5 separate regions of the Homo sapiens genome follow, and regions 1, 3, 4 and 5 are each linked to region 2. Evidence: promoter capture Hi-C in 16 types of primary human blood cells and fetal thymus (Javierre and others, 2016). All regions are on one chromosome and are shown on one strand. Each heading gives the region's core, a stretch centred on a gene start or on the middle of the fragment in contact. The rest is flanking DNA. Distances are from core to core; before and after follow the strand shown.

Region 1 (2,700 bases), core at 109-2,608, 260 kb after region 2:
ATGTGCAAAACAATTTGCTAGACAAGGCTATTACTCAAGCAAGAGACTATTCACAGATGGTGGCTTGGGCTGGGTAGACACAAAGGCTAGGACAGCAGACCATTAATCACCATGCACAGACGTGCTGCTTGGTAAAAGTGAGCCTCCCAGACTAAGAAAGGGTGTACTGTAGGGGCTTAATGTGGAATCACCTGTCCTGCGGGTATTTAGAGAAATCCTCACAGCCACAGAAATCCCCAGAAGCCCACAGAAGGGATTTCAGACAAATCCACATCTCCTCACACTCCCTTTTCCCCATTTCCCCCACTTCCTAAATGTAGAACAATTCCAGGATGTTGCAAATGTATGCATTCACTTAATAAAAACTGCATGTCTGCCAGGGACCGAGCACCACGAGGATTGTGTACACTAAAGATGATCTTTTCATCCAAGTATGTTACAGTTTACATGGAGAGATGAGGCAGAGTATGTGCATGTGGACACATATGTGTGCGAAAGGGAAATAGCCCAAGACAGTGATGTTTTCTCCCTCTTCCTGACAACTTCTCTCCATCTTCATCTCAACCTCATTGGTGCTTTCCTCTGAGCAGCCTTTTCTGACCTTCCAAGACCGAGTTGGATGCTCTGGTTCTGTGTTCTCATCGCTGCCTATGCTTCTCCCCTCCCATCACTTTCACACTGAATTGTAATTGCCTGTTCAGTTGTTTGGGTCACTCTTCCCCAGCCCCCTACTGTGTCTTTTTTGGGAGCAGGGACTTTGCCTGTCTGTGTTACTCCTGGCACAATACATGTTTGTTGACAGATTCCACAAGCAGTATTGATGATGTCCTCTGTGAGTGGAGTTGGAAGGGGTCATTTGAAGCCCAGGAGAAGGGGTTCCAGCCAGCCTTGAAAGATAAGTTAAGAACAAGAGGAGAGAGGATGTGGTTTTATCTAGTGCAGTGGTTCTCAAAGTGCGGTCCCTGGACCAAAAGCATCAGCATCACCTGGGAACTTGTTAGGAATGCAAATTCGGGCCTCACTCCCAAATTTGCTTTCACATTCCATTGCATTCCACACCTACTAAATCAGAGGCTCTGGAGGAGGACCCTGGCAATCTGGGTTTTAATAAACCCTCCAGGTGATTATGGTGAACTTCAAAGTTTGAGAACAACTGACCTAGCACTTTTCTACTATGACTCTGTATTATTTATCACTGAGACCAATGTACTGTCACATACCGACTAGGCCCTACCTGCGACTTTGTGATTATGCATAACAAATAGAGTTTGTCTCCTGCTACTTGCAGTTGATTAATGGCGAGAGTTCTTATGCAAGAGATTCTGAGACCATGACTGTGCCCAAGGTGAAAGAGTGCCAGAATTGATTAGTAATGTCTGTCATGGGTGCAGGAGGAGGAGTACTCACATCCTTTGCTCACACCTCTTGCATGTGCTGTCTCTGACTGGAGCCAATCCTGAATGTATGTAGGACAAGATGAAGGCAGTGCTCAGGTCTGAGGGCCTGGCTGCAGGCTCTCTTCTGATCTTCATGCTCTGAATTTTTAGGACCCAGCCTCCTTCCTTATGCCCTAGTTTAGATGTCCTGTTTCTTGACACTGTTCTTACCATGATTGAGTCTCCCACACCAGTCCCATACTCACCTCCTTCATACCACCACTCTTCTGGGTCTTGATTGATAGTTTGCCCTGTCACTGTTTGGCCAGACCACCAACCCTTGTTCTGACTTGCAACCTTTTTCTGGCCATTCTGTGGTTGGGTCAGATCATTTGGATCTCCCCTGGGACACACATAATTCTGATCTGCCCTGAGAAAAACAAATCTTTCCCCCTTGCTCCCATTTGCAAACTCTTTGCCCAAACCAGGCCAACTTATGTTCACAGACTCCTAGTCTCTGCTGTCTCCTCAACCTGTGCTAGTTATCCAAGAAAGGGATCCCAGGTGATGGGACCAGTATAAGCAAAGGCATGAGGTCAGAATATGAAAAATATGATTAGGTCTGTAAGTAGATCAGTCTGGCTGGGTTAAGAACTCATGCCGAGACATATTGGATTGAAACATCAGCAAACAATTGGTAAGATCAGATTTTGAGGGTCTCAATCCCCCAGCTCTGGAGCTTAAACTTCATGCCCTAGGAGGGAGCTACCAAAGGCTCTGGGTTGGGGAAGGTGGTGACACCTTAAGGAGATGCTGTACGAATACTCACCTAGCAGGTGTGTGCAGGGTGATGTGCAGGGAGGGACCAAAAGGAGGTGGCCACAGTTATCTGGGCCTGATGTGGCACTGATTGTGGGAAGAGGAAAGAAATGGACGTGAGAAAGGAATTCTGGAGACACTCCCAGGAGGGAATCAATGTGGCAGGATGGCTGATTTCATGAAGGGGGTAAAGGACAGAGAAGAGTCAAGGTGACTGGAATAACATCAAACCTGACACAAAGAGGGATGCCCAGTGGGGAAGAACAGATGTGAGAGGAAGTTGAGGACTTGAAATTAACACTAAATGAGTTTGAGGTGAAAGCAGGGAATCCTGGTGGGAATGCTGAGCAGGTGAATGGAAATCCAGGACCACAGGCAGTATGTGGGCTAGGATCAACAGGAATGTGGGTGTTCCCCATCCTAGGAGACAGCAGGAAAGGGGAGAGGGGAGGAAGGAGCTGTGGACTCTGAGCCATGACCCTTGGGGAATGTCTGCATCGGGGTG
Region 2 (2,700 bases), core at 174-2,673:
GTGGAATTATTTCATCCCATTGGAACCAGCTCTTGAATCAATCAGAACTGGCTCTGCCAGGCTCCGGGCCAGTAGTCGGTGCTCAAAATGGTGTTTCTTTCTTTGGCCTAATCTCTTGAGTAGCCTCTTTCCCTTTTGTTAATTTTTTTTTTTTTCTGGAGGACAATCTTCCCTGGGAGCTCCCTTCTGCTCCCACGAAGCGCTCTGCACCCAGCCCTGGTGCTGCCTGGCTCTGGGGCAGGGAGCTTGCATTCTGCCACCTCCTTCATTGTCCTCTCGGTATACCTGCACTTTCAAAACAACCCCTGCAGGCAAGCTTTAGAGGCAGCGATAAACAAACAGGCTGACTGAAATTTAGGGAAACGCCTGTATCTGGACAGCCTCTTCAAATATTTGTCACCCCCTCCCTGCTCTGGGGAAAGAAGAGACAGTTCCTCACAGTCACTCTATTTCCTGCCTTCCCAGCTCTGAACACCTTGGCTCGAATGTAAAGAATTTGGCTCTGAATTAGGACTCAAGAAACGGGGCCCTAGCAATTTTCCCTCCATTAACTAAACGCGTCACTTTGGTCATGCCCTTTTGGGGGCAATAATTTCCCAATTCGTAAAATGAAGGGATCAAAGTTTGATTTTTATCATTACTAATGAGAAGAATTATTATTTTTTTGCAGCAGGCTTTTTTTTCCCCAACAAAATATTACTCTGAATAAGACAAGAAAGAATCCCGAACGGCTCTGGCCGTCAGGGTGTGTGTGTCTCCTCCCCATGCTGTCTAACCCCCGTTGGAATTTGGAGGGCTCTTGTCCTTTCCCCTTGGCCTCAGAAGGAGCCCAGCGCGTCCTACCTTGCGTGGGAGTGTGTGTGTGACCAGGGCTCCTTCCTGCCCTTAGAGTCACCGCCCCCTTCTCGCACAGGTTTACAGCACCACTTGCCTCGCCCACTCCCCGCTTTGCCTCCGCCCCATCCTGATGCTGCCGGAATGGCTGTTCCAAATGGAAGGATGCCCGCGTCCGTCCCCTGCCCCAGTCCTTCAACAGGTCCCCACAGACCTCAGGATAAGATGAACGCGGAATTCAGGGCCTGGTCTCAACCGCCCTCTCCCTTTTCCTCTCACTTAGACGACCCTGGCCAGCTGGGCCACTCTCCACTCTCGCCCCCTCCCGCCCTCGTGGCCTCTGTCTAGACCGTACTCCCTCCTACTGGGTGATGTCTCTTCCCCTGGGACCCAGGGACCATCCCGTTGTTGACCTCCGGGGTCAGGGGTGCGGATGGGGGCCGGCCCTTCCCGCGGTCGCCGCCAGGGGGCGGCAGGAGCGGCTCCAGATGACAGCGGGAGGCCGCAAGAGGGGAGGGAGGAAGGACCGAGGGAGCGCGGATCCCGCTCTCGGATCGCAAACTCTGAGCCAGAGCTCTCCGCGCGCGCCTGAACCGCTGGCCGCCCGCGCAGCCCGACGCGGAATCGGGGCACAGCGGGAGCCCGTGCAGGGCGGGCGCGGGGCGGCTGGGCGGCGGTGGCGGCCGTCCATGCGGCGGCGCTCGGGGCTGCCCGGCGCCGGGAACCACGCGGGGGCGAGGCGAGGCGAGGCGGCCGCCGGTCGCTCCGGGACGCGGACCGCCAGGTGAGCAGAGCCGCGCGCCCCGCGTCCCCTGCGCGCCGCCCGCGCGGCCCCGACCCGGCTTCCGCTGCCCAGGCTCCGGCTCCCGCTCTCTGGCCGGCGGGGCGGGCTGGCGCGGGCTACCCAGTGGGTGTGTCCGGGGCGCCGCGGGCTGCGCCGCTCCGGGCTCGGGGAGCCAGCGCGCGCCTGGTCCGTGCGGACGGCTGCGCCTCCTTCTCTGGTTCTCTTCCTTGCTGGGAGTCTTGCTCTGTGCTGGCGCCGGCGCTCATCCCTCCACCCTCGACTCTAGGGACAGTCTTAAACTCTAGGGACAATCCACCTCAGTCGTCCCCGGGTCGGGGCCCCGTGCTCCCCGGGTCGGGTCGGAGGGGACCGGCGAGTGCACACCCAGCCCGTGCGCCCCCCACCTCAGCCTCGCCTCCCTCCCGCCTGGGGCCCGAGAGCCGGGCAAGTCTCGGTCAGCGCTCCTTGAGTCCTGGCCTGGGGCCTCGGATCTGTGTGTCTGTCTGTCTCAGTTTAGTTGCTGCAACCCAGCGAGCGCCTGGAGCCCGAGTGGATGGGTTGTTTCCGCCAACTCTGGACACTTCCTCAAGTGCAGCCTAAGTACCTGCGGCCCCTTGGCGCACTTACAGAAGTAGCTTTTGCACAGCGAGCTCACCTTGGAGCTCTACAGATCTGGAAGTTAAGTTTTCTTTTTATTTGAAATAACATCAGCCCTCACTTGGGAAGGGGATTTTAGGGCGTTCTCGGGCCCACCTAAGTATCTGGAATTTGTGGTCTAGTAAGTTTTTTAAGCAGTCCGCACCCAGCACCGTACCTCCCAGCCTCCTTTGCCGTCTTACTAAAAGTGCATGCTTGCTTCTCTTCCTGTCTCCTTTGCGATCTCTACCACGCTGCGCTTCGCCCTTTTCGGGCTATGAGTCTAAAGCTTGGACGTGGGTAGCAATCATTGGATGCCTGTTGGAATTTGGAATTAGAGAAATAGATACCCGAGAGAGATCTAAGGAATCGCCTTGTCCAACCCTCCTTTCACAGTTGGAGGCACCCAGGACCCCTGACAGTCTGAAGATTTTTCAAGGATCACA
Region 3 (2,700 bases), core at 115-2,614, 370 kb after region 2:
TTTTGGCTCAGAATTATTGTGGTTCAGTGGTAGAAGAGGAACTTATTACAAATTCAACTTTGAAATGTTTTGAGATCATTAAGAGAAAACTGAGCTAACCATTGCCTCCAGAGCATTTGATGTTACCAGCCTTGCTGGGCAGAAGGAGGCCTAAGGAAAATGGAAATTGGAGACAGAAGTGCCTGGAGATTCTAGACTCTTTCTCTTGCCCTCTACAGACCACTTGTCCAGGGCCCACAGCTCTTAAGAAAAAAAAAAAGAGAGAGAATAAAACTGTTTCCTACATTATTTAACAGTACCTCTCATTGAATGACAAATATTTACTGGTAAATATTTTAGTGTTATTCCTATAAAATTAGTGGCCGTGTATATCAACAGTGCATAGCTTTCTTTTTGTGGTCATACTTAGTTATTACTACAGCCCAGTGACAAGTTTGTTTTTCAAGCTGTGGAAATAATTAGAACGTCAAATACCACTTCATGATTAAAAACTTTCTAACCAGGAATAGCTCCCCCTTTGCAGTAATTACTTGTGGCAAATATCCTTTTTTAGAAAATAAATGCTGAACAAATTGAAGTCAGATCATTTTTTCCTCTCCTGCTAAAATAATTGCATGAGTAAGAGGTGATTTCAGTTTAGGGACATGTGGAGTTTTATATATTGCAGGATATAACATTCAGTCTTGAGCACCCTTACACACCCTCCCCTCTATCTCAAAATATCTCTTTCTCGGAGTCAGAGTTGAAGTGGTATCCATCTTCCTTCAAAATCAAACCTTCCTCGATCCTCTTCTGCCTCATTGGAGATATTAAGTCCTGAATTTTTTTCCTTAACAGCTGTAGTTTCTCCCCCTTTGCTAGTTTGGGATTCCACTTCCAGTTCCACTTGTGGGACCTTGGGAAAGTGAAATTTTCCGAGGCCCAGCTAAAAAGTGGGAATGATGATTTTACCCCACAGGGTACTTGTTATGTGAATTAAATGAGAAAGTTACATTTTAGGATACTCCCTGGTATATAATCAGCTATCCGTAAATGCCCATTCTCTCACTTACGTGTGGCATAAGTGGCATACATGGCTTACCATTTTGGTTATGCATGCAGTTATCGCTCACATCTTACTGAAACTTTCATTGGAACTAGTTGTCTACCTCCCTAATGCCAAGTTTCTTTTCTGTTTTTTTTTTTTTTTTTTTTTTTTTATTTCCCACTCCTCTGTCCACCTCTATATACATTTTAGAAATAGTTTTAAAAGCTTCCTTCAGATTGGCCCCTTATCTGCAGCTCCCGGGTGTGAATTTCTTTGTTGTGAATGCTGGCTCATGGTGAGGTAATTCTCCCACGCTTTGCAATTTTGGAGTGTGAGCTAGTGCAGCAGGGTCCTTTTCCTGGAGCTAACCCCCTGGCTCAAGAGGAGTACCTATGAGAATATTTTGAATTTGCCTTTTCGGGGTCCTGCAAAACCAGGATTTATGTTAACTAAGCTTTTGAAGACACCACCTATTGAGTATCTGCCCACCAGTTCAGAAAGCTTTTAGCTTTATTCTGAGAAAATCTCTCAGATGTAGCTCCCTTTCAGCCAGGGAAGTAGTTGACCACAGTCTCAGTTGTGAACTTTATTAAAACTGCATTAAAATCCTAGCCTTGCAGGGCTTATTGGGTTCTCACACCACTGTAAGACATTCAGCTGTATGCCAGTGCAACATGCTTCTGACCTTGCATTTCCTCGTCATTTCTGACACCTTGGGATTTCCCTTTCTTATTCTGAATTTAGCGATGTGGGATTTGTGTACATGTGTATTCTATCCAACTTATCTCTCTGTTTGGAGATGGAAGGTGGGATTTTTGCATCAGTTCCCACTGTTGTAAGCAGGCAAGAAATTGTGTTGTTTTCCTTAAGCACTGGAATGAATGGCTTTTGCTAACAGCTGCAGACTAGTTTTCAGCTCCATTACTCTGTGGAAACTGTTTTCTGGAAAGTCAACAGTGACCACTTCCTTGCTAAATCCAATTGCCTTTTCTAAGTCTCGGGATATATAAAAGATTTTATGAGCATCTTGATAGCTGTAACCTGCAAGAAACTGTCAACCAGTGTATAAGGGCCAAAGCAACATGGTATAGAAAAAAATCTTCTTTGACTTATGTTTGCAGTTCCCCTTATGGCCAGCTTAGAATCTTTCATGTAGATATTTGTCTAGCTCCAAAGTAAGATCATGTTAAATGGTATATAATTCAAGAATGTTGTTCAAATGTTTGTTGAGGACCTTCAGAAATATTTTTAAATTTTTCTAAGTGACTTTAACATTTTAAAAATTGACTTATATTTTATCTTTTTAAAATGCTATTGTAAATAGAATCTTTTCTTCCAATATATCTTGAATCTGGTTATTGTTTATAAATATGAAAGTTATTGGCTTCTCTATAATTTTATATACTTTATCTTCATAAATTCTTTTTTATTTCTGTGGTTTTAATTTTTTTCCTCTTTGGGTGTTTGATGTATGTAACCATATCACCTGCAAGTAATGATAATTTTATTCCTCCTCATCAAATTTTTTACACATACTTTCTTTTTTCTTATTCAGTTATGTAGGCTGCTGCTTCTAGCACAAAAGTAAGAGTGAAATCCTTGTCCTGCTCCTGAGTTTACTGAAGATGCTTCTTGTATTTCTCTCTTCAGCAGGATGCAAGCTCTTGGGCAGC
Region 4 (2,700 bases), core at 84-2,583, 350 kb after region 2:
TGAAGCAGGTCTTGGTATTTTTCAGGCTACTTTTTAATTTGAAAAATACAAAAAGAAACACATACATTCCCAAAGTAAAAATGACCCAGAACCCTCATATTAAAATATATACAAACTTAGGAATGAATATATATAAACTAAAAAGTTACATATAATAACTAACCTTACTTAAGAATAACATTTTTATTTTGTAAAGGATTGGCTCATTGTGTGCTGCTTTGAACTAGAGAGTAGAGAGTGGGTTAATACGTTCTAGGGAGATGAGGTATTAGGCAGATAAGCTTTATACATTTAATTTTTTGGATTGTGTTCTCTCTTAAAGACTATATATTCAGTCTCACACAGCCCGGATCTACTTCTCTTATGCCACACTCAACCATACCTTTTGCAGCCCCAAAGTTACCAGCGGTCTCTACCTCTGGGCCTGTCTCTGATTTTCTACTTCTGGCCACACTAATGTCTATCCTATAATAGGTGTCAAGACCCCTTTTTCATGTTTCTCTGGAGCTGTCCCCTTTTTATCCACTTGATTTCTGTGGCCCACGATACCAGTGGTAATTCTTTTTCTTGAGCACATTCTGAAAAGATTCCCTAAGGGAATGGCTAAGAGGTTGAAAGCTAGGTCAATGTTCTGAGCCGACTCACTAATAGAAGAAATTAATCACTTACCAGCATTCATAAAAATATAGGTAGATAAGCAAGGTGGAGAAGAAATACAAGTTGCCTGGTTTTTTTTTTTTTTTTTTTTTTGAAAGCATGCCATTGGTCCCAGATAACCCCAGGAGTAGATTGAATGGTATATTAAAAGGCACTTAAGTATCATGCCTGTCCTCCCCAAATTAATGGATCAGTGTACATTCCACCTTGAATTTATTATGCCTTTGCCTGCCAGTAGGGCTGGATGGCATGTGGACATATTTGCACATTCTAGCTTGGTTTATGTTACCTCCAGTCCTGAACTCACATCAGAAGCTGACGGTAATGCCCTTGACTCTGTGGGAGCTGATTTATCCTGGGCCATTTAAAGTCAACAGATACTTTTAGAATCTGGGTTTTGGCCTTTCTCTCGACGGGCTGGTAGCTGTCTCTTCAGTGAAAATAGTAAAAGACTGCCTTGGGACAATTATGAACATTACCTGTTTGCGTACAAGATAGCTACGTTTCGTATTTAATGCCAAGGTCACTTTACCTTGCTGGTGTCTGGCATTGCCTAATCATTCATTGCAGTCCTGGAAAGACAAAACTTGTATCTTCTGTATGGTTTCCTGTGTCCCCGGTTTATACATATTGGTTCTTCTTGTTGGCCCCCTACTATTTAAGCACTACAGAGAAAAACTGAGTTTTACTCATGGTAGCTCTATGTTAACCCCCCCATATTCATTAACTATTGCTGCATAACAAATTATTCCCAAAGGTAGCAATAACATTTATCATATTTATTATCAAATAATAAACATTTATCACCCCACAAAGTTTCTGTGACTCTAGAATTCAGGAGCAGCTTAACTGGGTGGTTCTGGCTTAGGGCCTCCCATGAGGTTGTTGTCAAGATGTTAGTTGGGTCTGCAGTCATCTGAAGGCTTAACTGGGGCTGGAAGATTTGTTTGCAAGATGTCTCACTCATGTGCCTAGTTAATTGGTACTGACTGTTGGTAGGAGGCCTCAGATCCCTGCCACATGCACCTCTATAGAGCTGTTCGAGTGTCTTCACAATATGGCACTGACTTCCCCAGGTGATCTAAGAAAGTGCGAGGTAGAAGCCCCAATATATTTTATGACCTAGTCCCAGAAGTCATACCCTGTCATCTCTGCAATCTTATTGGTTACAAGGTCAGTGTTATTCAGTGTGTGAGGGACTTATAGAAGGGCATGAACACCAGTTGCCATCTCAGAGCTGGGTCAGCACACCCTCGATGGCCCTTCAGCACTTTCAGTCTCCTCTAGTAGAAAATTTCCATAGTGTTATTTCAAATAAAGAAGCAAATAGATCCTGTTGGGATTTATAGGGTCCATTAGTATTAAATATGGCTACCAAACAGTGTCAAAATATATGTAGTCCTTTAAAAGCATTATTCCTTTCCAAACGTACTTAATATGATTTTTGTTAAGAAACAAAAATACAGTCCAGAAAAGTCAATATTAGAGTCCACTTTTGATCATAATTTCCAAGTAGGATTTTCTTCCACTATGATGAAGACATATGGGCACTGTCAGGTTTTTTTTTTTTTTTCTTCTCTAGTGTCTGCATTGAGAAAAGTTAAACAAATAGATCAAAACTGAACCTCTTTTTACAAAGTTACCATTCATTTGTTGCCATCCTGGAGTGCAGGCCAGGTTCTTTTGTTAGCTGCTGCTTTGAAATATGTGGCCAAGATTGGCTGGCATGAAGCTTTGTATGTTGGCGAGCCAACTCCCATGAGTTGGAAGCTCCTTCAGAGCTGAAGAAACAAGACCAGAAGCATCTTAGAATCATCTCTCTTATAACCTTACAGTTGGAAGAAATCTAACAGGTCTTCCAGGCCTAACTTTCTTTTTTCTTTTTCATATTGTCTTTTAAAAAATATAACTCTTCACTAAACTTAGTTCTGATCATTTTCTTTTTGAGACAGGGTCTCACTCTGTCACCCCGGCTGGAGTGCAGTGATGTGATCATGGCTGTCTGCAGCCTTGAACTCCCAGGCTCAAGTGATCCTCACCTCA
Region 5 (2,700 bases), core at 19-2,518, 280 kb after region 2:
TTCAAGCGATTCTCCTGCCTCAGCCTCCTGAGTAGCTGGGACTACAGGCAAGTGCCACCACGGCCGGCTAATTTTTGTATTTTTAGTAGAGACGGTGTTTCACCATGTTAGCCGGGATGGTCTAGATCTCTTGACTTGGTGATCCACCCGCCTCAGCCTCCCAAAGTGCTGGGATTACAGGCGTGAGCCACAGTGCCTGATTGGCCTTTTCACTCCTCCTCCTCCTGCCGCAGAGCATGTGCATAGGCTGGTGCTACTGCTTGGGATGTCTTCCTCCCTACTCCTCCTTCACAGAGCTAACTCCTACTCATCCTTCAGATTTCAGTTCAGTTCAGAAGTCACTTCCTCAGTAAAACCTTTCCTGATACCCTGGACTAAGTCGTTTCTCTATTGTATATGCCCTGGGAGACTTTGCCATCACAGCACTTGCTACAATTTGGCGTTTATACAGTTGCTTGCATTTTTGTGTATTTAATAAAATTAATGTGAGTCCCTCTGACATCTCCACCCGCTTCTACTCAGCACTAGACAGATATTTCTGAACAGATGTCAGTATGAAAGGCTTCCCAGGAGTCGTAGGTCTGGAGCTCAATGCTGAAGGTGGGTTTGTGAAGGCAGATTGGAGAACCAAGGATAGTCTGGACAGGTGAATAGAAGAAACAGAGCCACTGAGGTGGGAATGCCTTTGCTGTGTTTCTGTAACAATGAGGAGAACCATTGAGTAGTTACAGGCCCAGTTGAAGAGGGCGGTGTCCTTGAAACCTGCCTTAGGAGTCGGATGCGGATATTCTGAGGATGGTGAAGGACCGGATGGCTGTGAGGAGAGGAGTAACATGATGAAACATGTTGAAAGTCACTTGTTAGTGGGTTTTATTAAACCCCAAAACGGGGAGCTCAGTAGCCAAGAGCCCTCTGGGAGGCTGCTAAGGGACATGCCGTGAAGGTGACAGAGGACATCCAGTCTAAAAGTCCCCACTGAGCTCCACTGCCCCCCAGGTGCAAAGCCTGTGCTAAGCATGGCAGCTCACAAGGACTGGGCAGAGGCACAGACAATTCTCACTCATTGGTTTCTGCAGTCAAAAGTTGAGACTGGCCGGGTGCTGTGGCTCACACCTGTAATCTCAGCACTTTGGGAGGCCAAGGTGGGCAGATCGCTTGAACTCAGGAGTTCGAGACCAGCCTGGGCAACATAGTGATACCCCACCTCTACAAAAAATACAAAATTAGCTGGGCATGATGGTGCATGCCTATAATCCCAGCTACTCAGGAGGCTGAGGCAGGAGAATCGCTTGAACCCGGGAGGCAGAGGCTGCCAGTGAACTGAGATCACGCCACTGCACTTCAGCTTGGGCCACAGAACAAGCCCCTGTCCCCCGACTCCCAAAAAAAAGATGGTGCGAGCTGGGGTTCCTTGGAGTTTTCCCCTGAATTCCTGGATGATGTCATACCAGAACATTCTTTTGCTGAAGCCATCAAAACTCTCTTCCTGCTACAACCTTCCTTTTCCAGTGTCTCCCAAGTCTGCTTCTCAGTGTTTTGAAGAGAGACACACACACACACACACACACACACACACACACACACAAACACAGACTTTGTTGAGCACATGGCCTGTTGTTCAGGCGTCGGGATTCGCTGAGTGGACCCACGCATTCAAGTGCCAGCCTTTTCCACCTGATGAACCCGTGTGCTTTTATCGCTGTTGAGTGCTTTGGCCGTGTACCAATAGACTCTGAATGAAACGTGTGGATGTGCACACACATATCTACATATACATGTATACATACATGTAGACACATGTATATACATACACACATATGCCCTATAAATACATACTCTGATACACCCACATATCTATACCATATGTACACATGCATACATAATATACACATATGCATGTACACACATAAAACATGTACATGCGTACATATGCACACACACACACACATACCTATACGTATACATACCTATTTTACTGAGATGGTAATAGCAGGGGATAGGAAGTCAAGCCGTCCTCCCCTGGGTATTGCCTGCAGAGGTGCTACCACTTCCTCTGCCTCTGACTTTCTCTGGTTTCCAAGACCTTTACTTTATGTGGCAGTTTGTACCAGAATTCCCTTCCCTGACTTCCTTCTCAAAGCTCTCAACAGCCTCAGTTCCTGACGGGAGAAACCCCAGCCACATCATCTTGCTGGAGGATACGTATCTATTCTGTGTTTTAACACATATATCCGCTCAGATAGTTAGACATTTTCCAAAGCTGTAAAACACCGGCCATGACCTCCCGCTTCTGCTGAAGCTGTCAAGCCGCTTTCTTGACAGTTGGCCAGACTGGCTTACTACTGGCAGAACCCCTTTCCAACTTACTTTTTATTAAATATAACATTTTAAGATGTAACACAACATGTCACACAGCATGAAGAGTTTTGAACGGCATGGTGCCTTTTCATAATGGCATTTGTTTTCAGTCGTTTTTTCCTGCTTTGGATTTAATGTGACATGAGAGAAATAGGAAACATTTCAGAAAAAGGTTGGGTAACTTGGACAAGGTTCACTTAGCCAAATCCCATGAAACTATGTGTCTAGGAACTTTCTACGAACAGGAAGCTACTGCTGTTCCCTGTTCAGGTTTTAAGTGTGCAGGATGCAAGCTGTGGCACTTCCCAGGACTCTAGACAAGTTTTGCTCATTCTTTCTGTG

Evidence for each region. Contacts are between HindIII fragments. The CHiCAGO score rates a contact against its expected background, and 5 or more counts as called.
Region 1: a contact is called between a fragment that was not itself captured here and the fragment with the promoter of CT62 in region 2, in 1 of 17 cell types (endothelial precursors). The highest score is 17.0, in endothelial precursors.
Region 3: a fragment that was not itself captured here is called in contact with the fragment with the promoter of CT62 in region 2 in 1 of 17 cell types (naive CD4 T cells); the score reaches 5.4 in naive CD4 T cells.
Region 4: a contact is called between a fragment that was not itself captured here and the fragment with the promoter of CT62 in region 2, in 7 of 17 cell types (M0 macrophages, naive CD4 T cells, M1 macrophages and 4 more). The highest score is 6.7, in M0 macrophages.
Region 5: a contact is called between a fragment that was not itself captured here and the fragment with the promoter of CT62 in region 2, in 1 of 17 cell types (endothelial precursors). The highest score is 8.5, in endothelial precursors.

The regions. Positions count from the first base shown.
Region 1 is chr15:71,374,770-71,377,469 of GRCh38, forward strand. All of the region lies in intron 6 of THSD4 (thrombospondin type 1 domain containing 4), which reads left to right. Among named protein-coding and RNA genes, the nearest start is that of THSD4-AS1, 190 kb to the left of the region's middle. The HindIII fragment of the contact is 5,067 bases long and covers 1-2,700 here.
Region 2 is chr15:71,114,081-71,116,780 of GRCh38, forward strand. CT62 (cancer/testis associated 62) reads right to left here and starts at 1,424. Exons shown (of 4, transcript NR_168260.1): 1 at 844-1,424. THSD4 (thrombospondin type 1 domain containing 4) reads left to right here and starts at 1,391. Exons shown (of 18, transcript NM_024817.3): 1 at 1,391-1,618. RefSeq lists silencers at 1,205-1,254, 1,291-1,468, 1,315-1,374, 1,405-1,544, 1,695-1,784. The HindIII fragment of the contact is 2,227 bases long and covers 315-2,541 here.
Region 3 is chr15:71,485,438-71,488,137 of GRCh38, forward strand. The region is part of intron 7 of THSD4 (thrombospondin type 1 domain containing 4); the gene reads left to right. All of the region lies in intron 2 of LOC107984716 (a long non-coding RNA gene), which reads right to left. Among named protein-coding and RNA genes, the nearest start is that of THSD4-AS2, 200 kb to the right of the region's middle. The HindIII fragment of the contact is 229 bases long and covers 1,251-1,479 here.
Region 4 is chr15:71,459,578-71,462,277 of GRCh38, forward strand. All of the region lies in intron 7 of THSD4 (thrombospondin type 1 domain containing 4), which reads left to right. Among named protein-coding and RNA genes, the nearest start is that of THSD4-AS2, 230 kb to the right of the region's middle. The HindIII fragment of the contact is 2,108 bases long and covers 280-2,387 here.
Region 5 is chr15:71,394,369-71,397,068 of GRCh38, forward strand. All of the region lies in intron 6 of THSD4 (thrombospondin type 1 domain containing 4), which reads left to right. Among named protein-coding and RNA genes, the nearest start is that of THSD4-AS1, 210 kb to the left of the region's middle. The HindIII fragment of the contact is 5,021 bases long and covers 1-2,700 here.